Linked DNA regions of Homo sapiens: region 2 is linked to region 1. Evidence: promoter capture Hi-C in 16 types of primary human blood cells and fetal thymus (Javierre and others, 2016). All regions are on one chromosome and are shown on one strand. Each heading gives the region's core, a stretch centred on a gene start or on the middle of the fragment in contact. The rest is flanking DNA. Distances are from core to core; before and after follow the strand shown. Region 1 holds the start of ZNF18 (zinc finger protein 18). Region 2 holds the start of ELAC2 (elaC ribonuclease Z 2).

The links. Contacts are between HindIII fragments. The CHiCAGO score rates a contact against its expected background, and 5 or more counts as called.
Region 2: the fragment with the promoter of ELAC2 here is called in contact with the fragment with the promoter of ZNF18 in region 1 in 7 of 17 cell types (naive B cells, fetal thymus, M2 macrophages and 4 more); the score reaches 10.0 in naive B cells.

The regions. Positions count from the first base shown.
Region 1 is chr17:11,995,839-11,999,612 of GRCh38, reverse strand. ZNF18 (zinc finger protein 18) reads left to right here and starts at 2,138. Exons shown (of 7, transcript NM_001303281.2): 1 at 2,138-2,182. RefSeq lists enhancers at 1,570-1,649, 1,720-1,959, 1,074-2,057 and a silencer at 1,990-2,439. The HindIII fragment of the contact is 4,230 bases long and covers 943-3,774 here.
Region 2 is chr17:13,016,341-13,020,114 of GRCh38, reverse strand. It overlaps ELAC2 (elaC ribonuclease Z 2), which reads left to right and starts at 2,088. Exons shown (of 24, transcript NM_018127.7): 1 at 2,088-2,412; 2 at 2,994-3,044; 3 at 3,183-3,253. The coding sequence starts at 2,168. RefSeq lists a silencer at 1,971-2,050 and enhancers at 2,571-2,630, 2,651-2,760, 2,272-2,772. The HindIII fragment of the contact is 8,738 bases long and covers 1-3,774 here.

The DNA of each region.
Region 1 (3,774 bases), core at 889-3,388:
ATCATCTGGTAAATATTTATTGAATGAGTAAGTGAATAATAGAAATAGATGACACCTTTTCATTATTTCCTAAGCTGAGGTAGATATCTCCCTATTTTAAAAAATATTTTGATTGTTCAGCCTGTTTCGAAATAAGTGTTTATGCCTTTTCCTAAGGTGCCAGTTTATAAAGAAATTATTAAACTTCAAAGTGTCATTTTCATATCAGGAACCATCTACCAGGATTAGAGTTCTCAAACTGAGGTTTGTGGGTTCCAAGGATGGGTTTCAAGGCTGTGTTAGCTCCCTGGATTTGAGTGCAAAGTGTTGTATGTAGATGTGTATGTGCATTTTTCTTGGGAAAAATTTTACCTTCCATCAGATTCACAAAGGAGTCAGAACCCAATTAATGGTTTTGAATTACTGTTATCTTCCTTGGGTGTTGATCAGCTAAAAGCGAACACATTGAAGATAAAACTCCTATAATCTTCCCCTCTAAACCACCTTATCTCTTGACTTTCTTAGAAGCAGAGCACATTGATGTTGGAAGCAATACCCAATGAAGGTGTCCCTCTAAATGTGCCTGGTAAATTGTTAGCCATGCTGTCCTCAGGAACTCAAAGCAGCGCCATCAATCACATGAATGTTAGAAACGTCCAGCTAGGTGCCATGGCTCATGCCTGTAATCCCAGCACTTTGGGAGGCCAAGGTGGGTGGATCACTTGAGGTCACGAGTTCGAGACCAGCCTGGCCAACATGGTGAAACCCCGTCTCCACCAAAAATACAAAAAAAAAAAAAAAAAAAAAAAAAGACTAGAAACTTCCACCTATGTCAGGCTGAAACAGTAGTTTCACACATAGGATCTTGTTCAGACCCTGGGACTTAAGAGAACATGTCGAATCCCTTTTCCGCTGGTCACTTTTCAGGTACATGAAGATGTAATCCCATCCCCGCATCAAGCTTTATTTCTCCAGAGGAGGATCTTTAATTCTTGTAAACATGGGACAGGTACAGGACATGTTATGATAATGACAGGTACAGGACATGTTATGATAATGACAGGTACAGGACATGTTATGATAATGACAGGTACAGGACATGTTATGATAATGACAGGTACAGGACATGTTATGATAATGACAGGTACAGGACATGTTATGATAATGACAGCTCTTCTTTAAATTTTTATTTTTTATTTATTTTATTTCCATAGGTTATTGGGGAACATGGCAGCTTTTTTTGAATACCCTCCTCTTTGCCAGTTGCCCAAGGTGGAACACCCAAACTTTGACATGATACTTCCATTAATGCAACTTAGTATCACAAGTTGATGTCGTGGCCCAGCACAGGATGGCCTGGAAACCGGCAACACTGGACGCTGGGGAAAGGGTAAGAAGGTCTTGACCATTACAAATGGTGTGGAACTGAGCCGAGGGAGGGATAGTGAGAAGGGAGAGAGGGTGAGGTGTCTGAGAGACAATGAGGTCAAATCAGAGGATTCAGCCATTGTTGGCGTGTGGGAAAGGGAAGGAGAAGGGAAGAGTCAGGGATGACATTTGTTGAGAGAGAGAGAGAGAAGAGAGAGAGACGCAGGTGGAAAGAGGATGGCACCACATTGGACTAGCCCCAACGGAATGGGGAGAAGTGGGAGAGGACCCAGGGGATGCAGAGCTGATGAGAGTGGGAGAACCAAGACAGAGGAAGAAGGTTGGGGCAAATCAAGTGTCTCAGGGAGGCCCAGTGAGGCAAGAACGGAAAGGAGAAAGGCGGCGGTTAAGAATCAGGGATAATGGCAGAGCGTTGCAGCTCTGCGGGTGGGACTGGGCGGAAGGGTTTGGGAGAGACAAAGAAATGATCTTTGAAGGCCTCGCAGTGCTTGGCCGAGTGCCTGGCACAGAATAGGTGCGCAATAAATGACGGGTGAGAAGTGAAGGAACTCAGGAACAGTGATTAGTGAGTGAGTGACGGAAGGAACGGAGGATGGCGTTGGCTCGGGAACCTCGCTGCCATGTCGGTGGAGGCTCCTGGGCTGCAACGCCAGAGAGAGGCGGGGCGTCCCCGACGGCCAATAGGAGCTTCGGTATCAGCTCCGCCCCCGCCCCCTAGCTCCGCCCGGTGCCGCACGTCGTTCGCCTGCCGCCTGAGGCGCGCGCAGCCACCCAGCTCCCGGAAGTGCGCCCGGAGCCGGCGCCGCGGGCCGAGGTGAGCGCGCTTGCGGGGCGGTCCCGGCCTCCGGCCGCTCGGGGTCAGGCCTTGCGCTATCTGCGTCCGCACCTGACTCAGCTGGGCACCCCGGAGCTACGGAGGGGCCAGCGGGCTCCCTTGCCCATGCGTCTGGGAGCGCGCGGGGGACGTGGCGAGTGCGGGGCCGGGGCAGCCATGGCTGGGAGTGGACCGTGGGTGCGGGGGGATGTGTGAACCCCGTCCCGGCTCTGCATTCCTGCGCCTCTGCGCCCCGCGGGACCGGCCGGGTCTCTGCACTGGGACCGAAAACGGGCTCCTCCCCGCTGTCTTCCCCTAAGGGCTGAAAATGAGTCTCTGGAAGAGGAAACCCGATGGGATGATGCCTGGAGTCTCTCCCTCTCTCATCAGAGTGCAGTCGGCATTTGGGGGGCGCATGGTGGAGAATACATATCCAATGAGCAGCGCTGCCCTGGCCTCGAGCACTAAATGCCAGTTCCCCTAGCTGCTTGTGACAACCAGAAAACGCCCCAACAAATCACCAGACGTTGGCAGTTCTCCCCAAAGCAAAGGCTTTAGAGCTTCCTGGGTTAATCTGGCTGCCACTTGTGAGCCTCGGAGGTTCCTGATCTGTACACCAGGGTAATTGTGGGAATTGGAAATACATGAACCGAGCTTAATAATGAGCCGATACGTAGTAGGTGCTTAACAAATGGTTACTTATATATGTAACCATGTATGTAACCACTTGTGTATATTACACCTAGAATGCACTTTTAAAAATTCATTCTATTTGTTAAAGGTTTAATAACAGGTATAACAGACAACCTTATTTTTTTTTCATAACTAATGGGGGCAGTTCCTCATGAGGTTATCGGAATATAAACTCTATTAAATTTTTAATACTATATAAAGTAATTTAATTTTGAATAATCGAGACATTTTTCTTACACACTACCTGGGAGTATAATATTACTAACAAAAGATTTAAGTATTTTATAAAATCTGTAGTTTTTCCAAAATGTCATTTCTCTTAAATATTATCTAAACTGCTATCTTAATTTAGGAAACAGATAAATTGCAGTAAGTTTACAGGTCGGTATCTTGCTATCTAAAATCTTGCCGCTTGTTATTTGAAACTCTTGAGCCAAATAGGTTGGATTTACAAAGCAAGGTATTTTTAAAAATATATTTATTCGTTTTTTAAGATGTTATTTGAAACTGTAGGTTTACCTCTGAGCTAAAGCTGCTTTTCAGGTGGTTTGATAATGCTGTCATTGTCACTCAGTATGAAAACATATTTTAATTTCCTTTGTGATTTTTTTCTTTGACTATGGGTTAAGAGCATTATTTAGTAATTTCCATAAATTGGGATTTTCTAGTTATTGTTATTGATTTCTACTTTAATTGCACTATGATCAGAGAATATATTTGAACCCAGGAAGCTCTAAAGTTTTCCATTTGACCTTTCTGGTTTTGTTTCTCTTGTGTTCCTTTTCTATCAGATATTGGGTTTTTGAGTGTTTTTTGGTATTGCTTTAATGGCTTTTTAGCAATACCACTTTGCGTAATATTTTTAGAGCTAATTTTAAGATATCAGTCATTTGAAAATT
Region 2 (3,774 bases), core at 839-3,338, 1.0 Mb before region 1:
CCTTCAGAGTAGCTGGGACAACAGGTGTGTGCCACCATGTCCAGCTAATTTTTACTTATTTTTAAATTTTTTAGTATTTTTTGGTAGAGATGAGGTCTCGCTTTGTTGCCAGAGCTGGTTTGTTTGTTTGTTTTTGAGATGGAATCTCCCTCTGTCACCCAGGCTGGAGTGCAATGGTGTGATCTTGGCTCACTGCAACCTCTGTCTCTGGGGTTCAAGTGATTCTCCTGCCTCAACCTCCCCAGTAGCTGGGATTACAGGCCCATGCAACCACTCCCGGCTAATTTTTGTGTTTTTAGTAGAGACGGGGTTTCATCATGTTGGCCAGGCTGGTCTCGAACTCCTGACCTCAGGTGATCCACCTGCCTCGGCCTCCCAAAGTGCTGGGATTACAGGCATAAGCCACCATGCCTGGCCACAGAGCAGGTTTTGAACTACTAGCCTGAAGCTATTCTCCCGCCTTGGCCTCCCAAAGTGCTGGGATTACAGATATGTGCCACGGTGCCCAGGCTTTAAGCAACTTTTAAAAACTATCATTTTTATTTCAAATACTTATGGAGATGGTGGTATGATAATCTTTTCAGTTTGTAACGCCCTCTAACTGTGTAAAGTAGATCTGAAGTGTTTTCCTGACCCTCACTGGGATGGTTATTTCAAGTACAAAACGTTTTCACACCGTGGGTGATAATCTTCCATAAAAAATTTCATATTTGAATGAAAACAGCTCAAGAAATACACTAATGAGCAAAAATATATGGGGAAAGAGGAACGTGTAGTTTTGACTTAACTGAAGAAACCAAGAGGAAACTGGTCTCCATATGAAAATGTGATCCTGGAAAGTCAGGTGTCAAGATTTTCGAGTAGGAATCTACATGACTTGAATCTCCCTTACTTCCTGAATAAAAGTGACATCTTTCAGTATTTATTTAAAAAAATCATATGTCAGTGGAGCTTCCAGGTAAATTATCTTTAAAAAATCATATTTGAGTGGAGCTTCCAGGTAAATTATCTTCCTCTTTTAAGGGAGCTCCCTGTATTTCTAGCGGCTTTAACTGATATCCCTTTCAGTGAGAAATCCTCATTAGCTACATAAGAGGGGACTGGGTGTTTTTTTCAAAAAGCTGGTATTGGGACATCTACCTCTGTGATGTCCCTGGTCAGCTATATTGTCTAGGAGTTGAAACATTTTGTATTAATTTTCTATCATTTACTGGGTGCCTCTTCTGTGACAGTGCCACTCAAAGGTCTATTGATATATTATCAGGTGACTGAATTCTATATTCTGAAGTAGGAGATACTGTTATTGCTGTTATTACATTTTACACATAAGAAAGCTGAGGCTCTGAGAGGTCAAGATCACGCAGCTAACAAATGAGCCAAGACTCTTGCTTTAGAGCTTGTCCTCTATTCTTGCTTTTCTTTCCAAAAAACACTACAATTTTTGTTTTGTTTTGTTTTGTTTTGAGACAGGGTCTCGAGGTGTCACCCAGGCTGGAGTGCAGTGGCGCGATTTCGACTCACCGCAACCTCCGCCTCCGCGCTTAAGCGATTCTCCTGCCTCAGCCTCCCAAGTAGCTGGGACTACAAGCTCGGGACACCACGTAAAAATGATCAAGTTCTAACATGTATGCATACGAATTACAATGGAAATAAAATTAGCAAAGCGCTTATGCTAATGCTCAATACAATTGATTTCCTCACATTTAATCCTCACAACCACTACAACCACCTCTAACTCAAGCTCTGAGGGACTGACGTGCCCGGAGGACACAGCTCTTATCTGGTGAGAACAGGAGCGTTTTAGCGAAACTCCAAACTCCTAGGTCCCGCCTTCCCCAGGAAGGCTTTTCCTGGCACTGTGCTTCCGGAAGTCCCGCCCCAGGAGAAAAACAGCTTCCGGAAAAAATTGCGGCCGGCAAACCGGAACAGAACTAGGGGCGGGGCCGCTTGAGACGCTCTAGTATTCCTCTACTCTATGGCCACTGTCAATTGACAAGTCCCGAGCGGTAAAGCTCCTTTCTATTGGATGAGCAGCCTCGCGTAGGCGGGAAGCTCGGTGCACGGCGCGCTGATTGGCTGGATCCGCCATGCGGAGCGGCTAGGTGGTGCACGGGAAACGCGGGCGTAGGTGACCGGCGGCTTTCTCAGTTTTGGTGGAGACGGGCGCATGTGGGCGCTTTGCTCGCTGCTGCGGTCCGCGGCCGGACGCACCATGTCGCAGGGACGCACCATATCGCAGGCACCCGCCCGCCGCGAGCGGCCGCGCAAGGACCCGCTGCGGCACCTGCGCACGCGAGAGAAGCGCGGACCGTCGGGGTGCTCCGGCGGCCCAAACACCGTGTACCTGCAGGTGGTGGCAGCGGGTAGCCGGGACTCGGGCGCCGCGCTCTACGTCTTCTCCGAGTTCAACCGGTCAGTCAACGAGCCACGCCCCGTCCCGCTGGGCCCTCAGTGCGGCGCAGCCTCTGAGCATCGGGGCACCTCCCAGGGCTTCGGCTTCCCTGCTTCACACATGTGGTTCACTGTTGCGGGGGTTCGTGGAGTTATGGTGGGTGGGAAATCCGAGATTCTTTGCATCCATGTGATTTCTGCGGATCTGTGAAGAACTTCAGGCCTGGGTCTGAGCGTCCTTTTCCCAACCCTTGGGCCCCGGCCTGGCTGTCAGCACTTTCGGAGCTCCACCCTCTTCCGTGCACCCCAAGGCCAGTGTGTCGTTGTTAGCGTGTGGGGTGGACAGATCTGGTGTGTAGCCGGTGGTGGAGAAAGGACTCATTTTGTCCTAGCACCCACACACACAGGCCCCCACTCCTCTCCACCTCTGCTAAGGAGGGCTCAAAACCCACCAGCATAAATGTGGCTCGGTAGTCCAACGTGGACTTTTAATTTTTTTTTCTTTTTTTTTTTTCCAGAGTCTACAATAAAACATCTAATTGGTGTCAGAGAGTTTACAGAATAAAACCTTCTGAATGTCTTGTGTAATGTTTGTCTTGTAGGTATCTCTTCAACTGTGGAGAAGGCGTTCAGAGACTCATGCAGGAGCACAAGTGAGTCAGTCTCTTGCTTTCGGAGGGGGAGTTGATTACGGGGCTTGAAAGCCGAAATGAGAGGCCAGTTGTTTTTTATAGCAAAAGTGGTCCTTGTTCTGTTCATGTTATCCTGTTTAAATGTTTTTTCATTCTTAGGTTAAAGGTTGCTCGCCTGGACAACATATTCCTGACACGAATGCACTGGTCTAATGTTGGGGGCTTAAGTGGTGAGTATATTCTTTGCAGTGTCAGAGGCTGGTGGGAAGTCTCTGGGATTTTAACCGGCTTTACCATTTTTCCAAGTCTGGGGTGGGCAGCTACTTTTTTTTTTTTTTTTTTTTTTGTCAGTGGCGTGATCTTGGCTCACTGCAACCTTTGCCTTCTGGGCTCAGGTGATCCCCTCACCTCAGCCTCCCAAATAGCTGGGACCACACGTGTGCCCCATCACACCTGGCTAATTTTTTTTGTATGTTTTGTAGCGACGGGGTTTTGCTATGTTGCCCAGGCTGGTCTCAAACTTCTGCGATCCTCCTGTCTCGGCCTCCCAGAGTGCTGGGATTACAGGCATGAGCCACCGCACCTGGCCTGGAATTCTTTTTATACCAGCCCAGTCAGCAGCAGCACAGAGCATTAAAAGCTGTGACTCAGGAGAACAGATTTTAATATGGATACCACCTCTTAAGTGTTACCATCCACTTAGTTTCTTGCGTTGCGGGGACAGAGATTTGTGGCAGTAAACTGGAGAGTC